4 separate regions of the Homo sapiens genome follow, and regions 1, 3 and 4 are each linked to region 2. Evidence: promoter capture Hi-C in 16 types of primary human blood cells and fetal thymus (Javierre and others, 2016). All regions are on one chromosome and are shown on one strand. Each heading gives the region's core, a stretch centred on a gene start or on the middle of the fragment in contact. The rest is flanking DNA. Distances are from core to core; before and after follow the strand shown.

Region 1 (3,088 bases), core at 582-3,081, 190 kb before region 2:
TATGTTCTCAGGCACATACATGCATCCCCACCAATACTCACTAAAAGGTGTCTGCCCAGGCACCTGTGCTCACACTCAGATCCCCACATCTAGGTAACTCTCAATGGGAAGGGTTCTTCAGCTTCCCGGTTTTCTCTTATTCATTTTTGTTCTCCCTTTCTGTCTGGCTTCCCAGTATTTGCTGGTGGAGTGTGTGGGATGGTGTGGGGGTGGGGGCAGTGTGGAGCAGCGCAGTCTCTTGGCTCCACTGGCCTCTGTGTGGACCCAGTACAAACCCTGGCCTAAGGGTCTGATGCTTTTCTCTGGTAGGTGACTCTTCTTGTACGAAGGCACAAGAGGCCATTTGGGCAGCCACCTTTCCACCTGGGATATCCTGCATTTCAGTTCACTCTCAACCTCATTGCTCACCCTGATTCTTTGTGTACTTTTGGAGTTTTTCTTCCTTCACTTTTTTCTTCTTCACTCTTTACTTTTCATCAATTTCTGGTTTAGGGAGTTCAGGATCAGCCTGCAAAAGCAGGGTCGGGTGGGCACAGGAATGTCCTTAGGGAGAGTAAGCCTACTTTTCCTAAGGAAATCAGAAGGACCCGGGCTGAACCCTGGGGGTGTAAGCAGCATCCCCCTCCCCTATCTGCCTTCTGTCAGTGTTGCCATAGGTGGCTCATTACCTCCTTTCTCTGGTATCCATTTCCTCCCCGTTTTACATCTCTCCTCCCACCCATTTCCGGGGTACTTCCCTACCCAGGCCTTGTAGATTAGAAGCCCGTGGCCCCTTGCAGTGCGCTGATGACATCTGGAGGGCATGGCTCAGCCTGCACCTCTGTCCTCTGTAGCTTCTCTAGGCCTACTTGTAGATCAAAGCCCTTGATACCACTCGGAAAAGAACCCATCAACAAGAAGCTTCTTGGTGTTGTGTCCTTTCACCGGGACATCACAGGTTTCTCTTTGCCTCTTGTTGTGTATGCCACCATGCAGTGAGGCACCCCTGAACTAGGTCCTTCAGGACAGCTGCTGTGGCGTGAAGCTGCCACTTCTTGTTCTTATTGTCTTTCTGGTTCTTCTTCCTCTTCCTCCTCCTCCTCTTTTTTCTTTTTCTTTTTCTTCTACTCCTTCTCCTTCTCCTTCTCATTTTTCTCTTCTTTCTTCTCTTTTTCCTTTCACTTTTGGCTCTTGGCGGGTCAAGCATTATACTGAGACTGCTTCTTCCTCTGCTCCTGGTGATGCAGGATGCCCCTTTGCAGAACAAAAGTGAGAAAGGCCTCATTTGTTCTTAAAGGAGCAGATATGAAGGTCACCAGTTCAGTCCCTCTGGTGTTCCACAAAGGCGCCAATGTGTTACTTTTCATGAAATGTCACCATGAACCCACCCCTTAACCTGTTCCTCATGGCTCACCATTCTTTCCCATTCTCTTTGTGGATGCTCTAAATGTGTAATCCTGAGCCAGCAGGAGCCTTGGCAAGTTGTCCCCCTTTGTCTTTTCTTTCAATCCAGCCATGTGAACACAACGATCCAGATTTCAGTGTGTATAGGCAGGCTGTCTCTCCCACGTGCCCATTTGCCCACTCTCACTCACACAGGCAGGCACCCAGAGACCACAGACACAGACACAACCACATGGACTCACAGGGAAACCCCGACAACCACAAATATAATCACAAACACACATGCACAGGGAGATACACACACAGACACAAAGACATACACTAACACATGCACACTCACAAACTCATAGACACACACACACACACACACACACACACACACACACACAAATCCTCACACAGGCCCAGGGGTGCGGGCTCAAGCATTCACCCACACAGACGCACACACACATGTGTCGCCATAGCCACCAGACTGCCCACGAACTCTCCCATAAAGGCTCTCAGTCGGCCACAGGCAATGGGCTATGGGTGAGGATTCCTGGCTCCAGGCCTGGGTCATTATGCTGTTGATTGGGCACCTAAGGCCTTCTCCTGAGAATGAATGCGGGAAGTCTGTTATCAGATAAGCCCCAGCAGCCAGTGTGAAACTGGAGCCTCCTGGGTCAACCTGCTTAAAAAGGGACCACACCTTGGGTAGAGGCAGACAGTCCCCTTGGGACCCTTGGCCCTCTGTGATGCCATGGGAATCTGTGTTGCGTGGTGGCCTTCCCCAGTTCCCCTAAGCCACCCTCATGTCACCCCTCCCCCCCACCCCATGTGAAAGCCAGGACAGCCTGCACAGAGTCAGACTTCAGTCAGTTGCTGAGTATCCCCTCTGAGGGAGATTCCTGCCACACGCCCTGTGACTGCCTGTTGAGCTGTTCGCTCATTTTGGTGACCTCCATGTGCCAGCCCAAGGTGGTAAACTCTATCTGGAGCTCCAGGCTTTGGGAGAACCACCAGTCCTGCAGCAAAACCTTGGGTAATTCAGCTGGGTGACCAGCACCTTGTCCTGGGGCGGCAGCCCCATGATCCCAGTCTTCCTGTGGTTTCCCAGTGGCCATGATTATGTATCATTTGTCTTCTATTTTTCTGCATGAGCATGAGCCATGAAACCTGGAGAGGGCCAAAGGAAAAGCAAAGGCTGGCGGCATAAAGAGGATTTCCGCAGTGTCTCCTGCCTACTGGTCCTAGGTCGTAGGGTCCCTTAAGTTTGGTGGTCAACCTGAGACCAGGTGGCTGGCTCCTTTTTATCCTCCCTGTCTTTTTTTTGTTTCTCTTTCCCTTTTCTTTTTTTCACATTGGAAAGGGTGGAGGCCGTCGGATTGGAGGGGCAGGGTTAAGCTTGTAGTTGGCCTTTGTAGAGCCATAGTGCCATCGAGCGGAATCTGTTTCTGGAAACTGGAGGCAGCTGGGCATGAGTGCTGGAGAAATCCCAGGAGCACGAAAGAGATGGTGGCGGTGTGGGGCCCCCAGGCTGAAGCTGGACGAGAGAGGAACTCCTGGCTGGCCCTTTGCCCTTGCTCATTACCAGGATGGCACCCGGGCTCCACAGCCCTCTCCGAAAAAAGGGCAGGAAGGGGCGGCCCTCCATGGGTTCCCCTGGCCATCTCCAGGAATTGCCGGGCAGGAGTCGTCCCGCCCACAGCACCCCACAGCTCCTTGG
Region 2 (3,136 bases), core at 115-2,614:
TGTTTTTACCAAATCGTAGACATAGATATGGAAATCATCATCAAATTTGATGAAGTACACAGAGGGTTTTGCTTCTACCTGATGAATGACCATGCCAGTTCTCTTGGAGCCATCGTCTTTGGCGTATTCCACCTGTTTGCCTACCAGGCTGTCTATGACTTCTCCTGGCTCCCTCTCTGCCAGAGGAGAATCATTGGAATCTTGAAGGATGCGGAGGTCACCATCTTTATAATCATCTAAGAGCTGGTACATATATAATACAGGATCTTTCTCATAGGTAATGTAAAACCATGTGTTCATGACAGGTGCCTGAGCTAAGACCATCCCCCTCCATTCATTTTTGGAACCTTCCTCTGTCTCAAAAATATGTTCCACTGCTTTGCCAACCATTATTTCTGCCAAGTGTGTATCACTGATTCTAGATGATGCAACTCTATTAGGAAGGACTTCAAGTGATGACACTCTTTCATCTCTGTGAAGTTCCAATCCATAAACACAGTCAAATCCATCATATTTGATAAGATACAGAGAGGGATTTACAGGTACCTGATCCAGAACGGTTCCTTTCCACTGTGTTAGAGGTTCATCTCCATCTTTCCATCCGTGCTGAATTCTGCAGCCCACGATGTTCCCCCGAGGCTGGGAGGTGGGTCGGCTCCTATGCTTCTTGTGTGCAGCCTTCCTCTTTATCATGGTAACAGACACACTGCCGTGGCCAGCGCCCGTCCTGGACCGCTGCCCTGCAGCTGCCTTTCCAAACGGGGTCTTCATGCCTGCGAAGAGGAGCACAGTTGCCAGGTGGACCGAGAAAGGAAATTAACAAAATCAATGCATAACACGGAGAGCTTTTTCTCCTAATCAGCGCACCCAGTAAACCCACACCTGTTTTTCCCGAAAGCTAGATAGCAAAGCTGGAAATCAAGGCACCCTGGCTGAGTGCCTGCAGTAACCTTCCTCCCCAGCTCAGTCTGGCTAAGATCTGCGGTTCGGTGAAATACGAAGCGTTTCCCCATTCCCCTCGCCCTGCTTCCAACACTACCCGGCCAGGAGGCGCAGATTCCCCACCGTCCCGGATTGCGGGCCTCAAGTGCACAAATCGGACACCTCGCCGTTGCCTCCGCAGTGAGCCTATGGAGGAGGAAAATCAGCGGGCGAGCAGCCCGGTGCTTGCAAAAGCTGGGAGAGGATGATCCATAGGCAATGAGTGTCTCTAAGAGGGCGGCGGGGCAGGCGAAGATGACCGTGGCGGCGTCCCTTGCTCTTGGCTCCTGCGTCCTCCGCCTTCCTGGTGGCGGCGGCGGTGGCGGTGGCCGCAGCCCCTCTCCCACATCGGACTCCCACTAGTCGCTGCTGCGCCGCAGTCTCCTCCTTCTTTTTCTAGCGCAGCTTCCGGTCAGTAGAGAGGCCTCCCCTTCCTGCCAAACACCGCGTGGCGCCCCTCCCCCACCAACCTGTACCACAGCCCTGGGCGTGGAAGGTGCTCCTAGGCTCTCGGTCTCGCAGCTTCCTCCAAATCAGAAGCTGTGGAGCCCACAACCACCTCTCTCTCACTGCATTGGTTTACCTCTTCTGGTTTAGCACGCGCCCCTCCCCTCACCTAACCTCAACCCTCTGCGCCCCTGCCCCTTCTGCTTTCCACCTTTCAGGAATTAGCCCTTTCCTTTCCCCTCCCTCCCCGCGTCCCCCCACCCTCCATTGAAGGGGATTTGTGGTAGGACAAGAGAAATGCGCTACTGCTCAGTGTTCAGGCTGCCATCTTGACCCAATCTACGTAATTTTTACTGACTTGTCATTCCCAGACTTAACTTCTTGAGGATTTCTTTTCTTTTCCCCTGATTGCAAAAGAATTGCATGCACAATATTGACACTGTAAAATTCAGAAAATTGACATGAAGAGAAAATAATTAACTAAGCCGGCCTCCCATTTTCCAGGGCTCACAGTGAAATATTAACACTATTTCCTTTTCCTTTTTTCTAAGCTCTTACAAAGCTTGGATAATTTTGAATATGCACTTTCATGTCCTGCTCATTTCCATGTAGAATAAACATTTGCTCAATTTTTTAGATATTTTCTGAGAACATGTTTTGTAGTAGCTTCATAAAATTAAGCATTAGGATTTTTCATAATTTTGCCGTTGCCTCCTATCTTCAGACGTTTAATTGTTAAATACCTATAAATTGTGCTTGCGCATGAATTATTCTGTTCACTTGAACAGAATAACCTAGACACTAAACTTAGAACAATTGCTATAATTAAAACAGGAATTTGTGAGATCATAAATCTGTGGAGAAAGACATTTTAGAAGTGATTCAATCAGTTTTATCGTTACAGCCATCCTAGTGGGTATGAAGTGGTACCTAATTGTGGTTTTAATTTGCATTTCTCTAATGACTAATGAGGATGAGCATCTTTTTGTGTGCTTGTTGGACATTTGTGTATCTTTGGAGAAATGTCTATTTCAAGTGCTTTGTTCATTTTTTAAATGAATTGTTTGTAGCAGGGCTGTTAATTGTTCTTTTTAAATTCTGGATGAGAGAACCTTATCAGATATATGATATGAAAATATTTTATCCCGTTTTGTGGGGTGTCTTCACTTTCTTGATAGTATTTTTGATGCACAAAAGCTTAAAACTTGGTTGTGCGTTTGGAGTCACACCTAAATAAACACTGCCAAATCCAAGTTCATGAAAATGTACCCCTATATTTTCTTGTAAAATTTTGTTTGTTTTTAGCTCTTATATTTATGTCTTTGACCCATTTTGAGTTAATTATTATGTATGGTGTGATGAAGGGGACCAAATTCATTGTTTTGCACATGGATATCCAGTTGTCTCAGCACCTTCTGTTGAAGAGACAATTCTTAGCCTTTTTAATTGTCTTGGCATACTTGTTGAAAATCAATTTAGTACAGATGTATAGGCTTATATCTGGACTCTTAATTCTATTTCATAGAATTTTATGCAAAAACCACGTTTTTAATTTATCTTTATGCAAGAACCACATTTATTTTTTGATTACTGTAACTGTGCAGTATGTTTGAAATCAGTAAGTGTGATTTCTCTGAAAATATTATTAAGATTGTATTGGCTACTCATGCTCCTTTTTTTTTTTTTTTTTTTTTTTTTTTTTTGAGAC
Region 3 (3,142 bases), core at 639-3,138, 210 kb before region 2:
TTTAGCACTGATGAAGGTCACCAGTTTAGTCTCTCTGGTATACCAAAAACCTTCCCACATGTTGCTTTTAAGTGAAATGTCATGGTGAACAGATCCTTTACCCAGTTCCTCATGGCTTGCTGTTATTTCCTGTTCTGTTCGTGGATGCACTAGGTGTGTAATCCTGAGCCATTAGGAAGTTTGGCAAGTTGTCCCGTGTCTCCTTTTTTTTCAGTCCAGCCATGTGAACACATTGATCCGGATTTCAGTTTTTGCAGGGTGTCTCCGCCACATGCCCATTTGCCCACTCTCACTCACAGAGGCAGGCACCCACAGACCACAGACACAGACACAATACATACACTCACAAGGGACCCCCCAATCAGAAATTAAATCACAAACACACACGCACATGGAGACTCATGCACACACAGACACAAACACACACATTAAACACGCCTAAGCGGACACACACACAGATACACACAGACACACACACACACACAGAAGTAAGCTCACACTAGTACAAATGTGCGGGTTTAAGCATTATCGTACACAGACACACACAACACCTCAGGCACGAAACTGCCCACAATGTCTTCCACTCGGGCTGTAAATGGGGCTGTAAATGGTGGCGTGTGGCCCTCAAACTGAGGCGGGACAAGAGAGGAACTCCTTGCTGGCTCTTGGCCTGCCCTCATTCCTAGGATGGCGGCCTGTCTCCACAGCTGTATGTAAGAAAGGGCAGTCGGGGCGGCCAGCCATGGCTTCCCCTGGCAGTCTCCAGAAACTGCCGGGCATGAGTCGCCCAACACTCAACACGCCGAAGCTCCTTTGTTTCCTGGGTGGATAGGGGCTTTCTTGCCCCACTGTGGCCCCAGCCAAGGGCATCCCAGAACTGCCCACAAAAGAGACCAGATTAAACGGCCCCATTTTCTGGCTGTCAGTGGCCAGTGGCTTCCCTTATGCGTATCTCAAAATGGCTGCTGGTGCAGCTCCACTCTGTGGGCTGACGGGTCTTCAGGCTGCCTGGCTGATCTGTCTCGGGGCCTCTAGAGTAGCTGCTTCTCCAAGCGGTTCCAATGGCAGGTACGATTTGTTCTAGGGCTCTAAACCCCAGTCGGGGAAACCCTGGCTTAGGCAGAGTCCACCCAGTCCCGCACATTTTCGCGGATCTCTGTGCCTGGCAGAAGGCAAGTGTCCCTGCAGCCTGTTGTCATGTTCAGAAACACCTTCCGCTGGATGGCACTGTGGCTCCACAGATGACAGTCACGTCTTTTCCTTCCCTTCCCTTGCCTTTGTCTTTCTCCATTTGTTGCGAACAGAATAAAACAAAAACACACACACAAAGCGAAGAAACAAAGAAAGAAACGGGCCAAAGAGCACCCACCTCATCTACAGCAGGGCTCCCCACCTACGTGGTCACTTTGGGGGAAGGTGCAACAGTAGGAGCGTTCTCTGCCTCCCTCCTTCTTCTGGATTCTTCTCTGGGCAGGGGTCCCAGTGAACCAGAGGAGCCTATCCTCAATACATCCCACCCTTATGGCTGTGGCATGGTGGGGGTAGGTCGCACTGGGGGCAGTGTGAGTGGGTACAGGGGGAGAGGTGTGTGGATGTGTGGCCCTGCATGCAGGCTGCTGCAGATTTCTCTAGGAATGTGCTCAGCTCCCCCTAGGCAAGAGACCAGGCCGTATGCTGAGGTGCACGACACTTGTCCCTAGGTAGCACTCTTCCTCTTGGGGAAGGGACCAAATCTTGTATGGAATGCAGTCCGGTCCAACAGGCTTCCGCACATTGTTGACCCATGGAGCAGCAAGGAGTTTGGCTGGATGTTTGTTGGGATGGGACTGGACTGGAAGGACTCCTGTTGGAGGCCTTCAGCTCCCTCTCTCTCTCTGGAGCCCAGGCACTCATCTGTGCCCAGGGGTGGGAGGGGTATTCCAGGTTGTTTTACAGGTGGCTGTCCTGGAGAGAAAGCCACTTGTTATGTCTGACTGAGCATGCGTGCTCACTGGAACGTGGTGGTTCACCAGTTATTTGCCCCGGCATCTTGGTCATTCTGCATAAGTGCATGGGTAGCCAGGTTCCAGACAGTGCTCGCCTTCTCCTGGGCCTGTCTTTGTTCCTGTTCTGCGTGTGGAAGTAGAGGTGGATCCTGGAATGTGTTGGGTGGGATGGTGGTAGGGCAACTGTGCCTTGGTTTGATACAGAGCTCTCTGGGGTCCTCAAGCTGAACTCTGGTGCTTGCGGGATATTCAGCCCTAAAAATGAATGAGTCGGTCGAGGACAAATTTTGCCGGCTCTTTAGGGTTTCCAGGCAGACGTAAGAAATCCTGACGCGGGCCATCATACAGCCCGCTTCTTGGGATGCGAAGCCATGACCGCGTTGCTCTAAAGGTTACATATGCTACCCATGCCGCTCAGTGCCTGGGCAGCAGCATGGAACACACAGCTCTTCAAATATTGCAAATGTTTTCTGTCTTTGCTTGTTACAAATCTTCCTGGATGTGTAGGCCGCACTGGGAATGAGCAGAGTTTCATAGGACAGAAAATTCATGCCACGGGTAATGATTCTCACACTCATGAGAGTGTGAACCACTCTCACAAGAGGAACATCAATCTCGGGTGTGGGCCTGCACTCCCAGGGCATTCCAGGAAGAAGACTCACATGACCATGGAACAGGAGTCACCCCCTTTCTGTCACTTGTCAACAAATGCGGATTCTTTTTTCACATGTAGGTAGCATGCACCAGGGGGTGCTTCTGCCCCTTCCTAGGGACAAAGGGAGAAGAAAAGAATGCAGGAAGATTTGGACTGTGTCTTTGGGGTGGCATTGCGACTCTGAGTGTCAGAGGACCTCGTTTTTAACTTTTAACTCCCATCACGCTTCAACTTTTTCCCATCTTCATCTGTGCTTCCATAGTTCCTCAGACAAATACACGTATCCCCACGCACACTCACAAGTGTCTGGCCAGACACCTTCATTCACCTCCGGGTACAGTCGTCTAGGCAATTCTCAGGGGGCAGTTTTTCAGCTTTCCCTTTCCTTCTTGTTTACCTTTCTTGTTGTTTCCTGTCTGGCTTCCCAATATTTGCTGATGGTGTGTGCGGGATGGGGTTGGGGTTGGGGCAGTAGAGAGCAGGGCAGCCTCCTGAACCAACA
Region 4 (3,490 bases), core at 743-3,242, 180 kb before region 2:
AGCAGCTTTCAATATTTCATATAGTTCATAAATGTTTCAGGAATTACAAGGTTATAGAAAAAAATTTATAGACTATAATAATTTCCAGGGATATAAAAAAATAAAGCTTCTACCTTTGAATTGTAATAATAAAAGATAAACAGACTTGAAAGCATATATTATATCTGAAAATGTCAGATAAACTTGGCTTATAAATTAAAATATAAAATAATAATACAATTTGTTCAAATAAGTAATTAAAGCTTACATTGTAAAATGAATATTTAGAGAGATTGTGAAACCTGAGTATTTTACCCAATCCTCTGAAATTAGTCCCTAGCATCAGAATTAAAGAATCTGAAAAATCACAAATGGAGGTATGGTGACATTTATGTATATTCTAGAGTTATGTTATGCACACTTAATAAATTATAGACAGTTATTTTAAAGATTGTATAATATTACTAATCACACATTAGAGTTTTAAAACTTCTGAGCCAGGCTGAACATCACAAACAGTAAACACAGACTTCTTTAAAAGGACATCTGGTGAAAGGCATTTTATGCATCAGAAGGCACAGTATTATAAAGATGACAACACTCTTCAAAATAATCAAACTATTCAATGCAACCCTTATCAAAATTAAGGTTGCCTACTTTGAAGAAATTTATAACCTGATTCTAAAGTTCATATGAAAATGTAATGGACCCAGAATAGCCAAAACAATCTTGAAGTATACAAAGTTTGAAGAGTCACATTTCCAAATTTTAAAACTTATTACAAAGCTACAATAAACAAGTCTATGTGGTACTGGCATAGGATATAAATATTGATCAATGAAATAGAATCCAAAGTCCAGACATAAGCCCTCACAAAAGTTAATTTGCAGCCAATTAACTTCTGAGAAGGAGGCAAGACAAAAGGGGAAATAACTATTTTCAATAAATGGTACTGGGACAACTTGGTATCTACATGCAAAAAAAAAACAAAAAAACAAAAAACTTCCACCCCTACCTCATGCAAAATACAAAAATTAACTCAAAATAGGCCAAAGACTCAAATATAAGGGTTACACTATAAAACTCTTGGGAGGAAATATAGAATAAATTTTTGTGACCTTGAATTAAGTATTAGATTTTTAATTCTTACACCAAAGCACAAGTTAATAAAGGAAAAAAAAGATAAACTGGACATAATTAAAATTGAAAAAAAATTTGCTTCAGTGAACACAGTCAAGAAATTTGAAAGACAGCCACAGTGCAAGATTATTTTTGCAAATAATATGTCTCATAAATGACTTGTATCTAAAATATATAAGACCAGGCATGGTGGCTCATCCTGTAATCCCAGCACTTTGGGAGGCTGAGGCAGGGGGATCACTTGAGGTCAGGAGTTTGACACCAGCCTGGCCAACATGATGAAACCCCATCTTTACTAAAAATACACACACAAAAAAAATTAGCAGGGTGTGGTGGTGTATGCCTGTAATCTTAGCTACTCAGGAGGCTGAGGTGGGAGGATAGCTTGAACCTGGGAGGCAGAGGTTGCAGTGAGCCAAAATTGCACCAATGCACACTCCAGCCTAAGCAACAGGGCAAGACGCCATCTCAAAAAATAAAACAAAATAATAAAATAAAATAAACAGTAATTACCGCTAAATAATAAAACAAACAATAAACCAATTTTATAACGAAAGGATCTGAATAGATTCTTCTGTAAAGAAGACATACAAATCACAAATTACACATGAGAAGATGCTCAACACTATTAGTCATCAGGGAAATGCAAATCAAAATCACAAAGAGACAGCAATTTATACCCAGTAGGATACTTATTATTATTATTATTTTAAATAGCAAAATAATAAATGTTAGAATGTGGGAAAACAGGAACATGCGGCATTGTTGCTGGTAATGATAAATGTGCAGCCACTGGGCAAACAATTTTGTGGTTCCTCTCTAAGTTAAAAATAATGGCTGGGCGTGGTGGCTCACACCTGTAATCCCAGCACTTTGGGAGGCTGAGGTGGATGGATCACCTGAGGTCAGGAATTCGAGACTAGCCTGACCAACATGGTGAAACCCCATCTCTACTAAAAAATATAAAAAATTAGCCCAGCTACTCAGGAGGCTGACGCAGGAGAATCCCTTGAACCTGGGAGGCAGAGGTTGCAGTGAGCCGAGATCCCACCACTGCACTCCAGCCTGGGCATGACAGAGCAAGACTCCATCTCAAAAAAAAGAAAAAAAAAAGAAATAACATGCTACCCAGCAATTTTACTCCTGATACATAGCCAAAATAACTAAAAAACAGGTGTTCAAACAAAAATTGTACAGGACGGTTTACAGCAGAAATATTTGTACTAGGAAAATGTGGAAACAACTCAAATGCCCATCAACTGGTGAATGGAAAACAAAATGTATATTCACACAATGGAATATTAATTTAGTCATATACAGGAAATAAGTATACATACTGCCAGAATAAACCTTGAAAGCATTATGCCAAAAAAAAAAAAAAGGAAAATAATTCTTGCCTGGTGGTCTGGGAAAAGCAAAAGCATTATGCTATGTGAAAAAAGCCAGTCACACAGTACCATATATTATATAATTTCATATAAATAAAATGTCCACATGAGGCAAGTCTATAGGTTCAGAAAAAATATTTGCTTAAGGATGGAGTTTCCCTTAAGTTATGATTGAGAATTGATGTCTAAGGACTGTGTGATTTTATTCAGGGTTAATGAAAATGCATAAGAATTGACTGTAGTGATATTTACACATATCTATGCTTATCTATAAATATCCAAAACCATTGAATTGTACACTTTAAATCACGGATTGTATTATATGTGCATATCTCAAGTTGTTTAAAACAATAGATGTCTGGCTAGCACCTCCCAAGGCAGCCTCTCCCAACTTTTATTTTATTTTTTTGAGACGGAGTTTCACTCTTGTTGCCCAGGCTGGAGTGCAATAGTGCAATCTTGGCTCACTGTAACCTCCACCTCCCAGGTTCAAGGAATTCTCCTGCCTCAGCCTCCCGAGTAGCTGGGATTACAGGCATGCACCACCACACCCAGCTAATTTTGTATTTTTGGTAGAGACAGGGTTTCTCCATGTTGAGGCTGGTCTCGAACTCCTGACCTCAGGTGATCCGCCCGCCCCTTGGCCTCCGAAAGTGCCGGGATTACAGGCGTGAACCACCATGCCTGGCCAGCCTCTCCCAACTTATTAAATTCCTATGCAGCAAGATGGCAAAATGGAATTCTTCAGCACTCATAACCTTGCAGAAGTATCCATTTGAACAACTATTCATGCGCAAAATTACCTTTACAAGGCCTAAAGAAACCAAGTGAGAGATTACAGCACCTGGGTGTAGCAAATAAAGAAAGATGCATTTAAGAGTGGAGAAAGGGCAGATCATTTGAGGTCAGGAGTTTGAGACCAGCCTGGCCAACATGATGAAACCCTGTTTCTACTAAAAATACAAAAATTAGCCGGATGTGGC

What was found. Contacts are between HindIII fragments. The CHiCAGO score rates a contact against its expected background, and 5 or more counts as called.
Region 1: a contact is called between a fragment that was not itself captured here and the fragment with the promoter of SPIN3 in region 2, in 12 of 17 cell types (non-activated CD4 T cells, naive CD4 T cells, activated CD4 T cells and 9 more). The highest score is 12.0, in non-activated CD4 T cells.
Region 3: a fragment that was not itself captured here is called in contact with the fragment with the promoter of SPIN3 in region 2 in 3 of 17 cell types (total CD4 T cells, naive CD4 T cells and non-activated CD4 T cells); the score reaches 6.0 in total CD4 T cells.
Region 4: a fragment that was not itself captured here is called in contact with the fragment with the promoter of SPIN3 in region 2 in 1 of 17 cell types (total CD4 T cells); the score reaches 5.1 in total CD4 T cells.

Annotation. Positions count from the first base shown.
Region 1 is chrX:56,800,245-56,803,332 of GRCh38, forward strand. All of the region lies in intron 2 of NBDY (negative regulator of P-body association), which reads left to right. Among named protein-coding and RNA genes, the nearest start is that of NBDY, 73 kb to the left of the region's middle. RefSeq lists an enhancer at 630-699. The HindIII fragment of the contact is 1,866 bases long and covers 899-2,764 here.
Region 2 is chrX:56,994,177-56,997,312 of GRCh38, forward strand. SPIN3 (spindlin family member 3) reads right to left here and starts at 1,365. Exons shown (of 2, transcript NM_001010862.3): 1 at 1,040-1,365; 2 at 1-773. The coding sequence starts at 771. RefSeq lists an enhancer at 1,297-1,396. The HindIII fragment of the contact is 2,350 bases long and covers 1-1,988 here.
Region 3 is chrX:56,782,515-56,785,656 of GRCh38, forward strand. The region is part of intron 2 of NBDY (negative regulator of P-body association); the gene reads left to right. Among named protein-coding and RNA genes, the nearest start is that of NBDY, 55 kb to the left of the region's middle. RefSeq lists enhancers at 56-195, 855-934. The HindIII fragment of the contact is 3,817 bases long and covers 1-3,142 here.
Region 4 is chrX:56,818,030-56,821,519 of GRCh38, forward strand. It overlaps NBDY (negative regulator of P-body association), which reads left to right. Exons shown (of 3, transcript NM_001348129.2): 3 at 1-1,150. Among named protein-coding and RNA genes, the nearest start is that of NBDY, 91 kb to the left of the region's middle. RefSeq lists a silencer at 2,127-2,421. The HindIII fragment of the contact is 3,504 bases long and covers 241-3,490 here.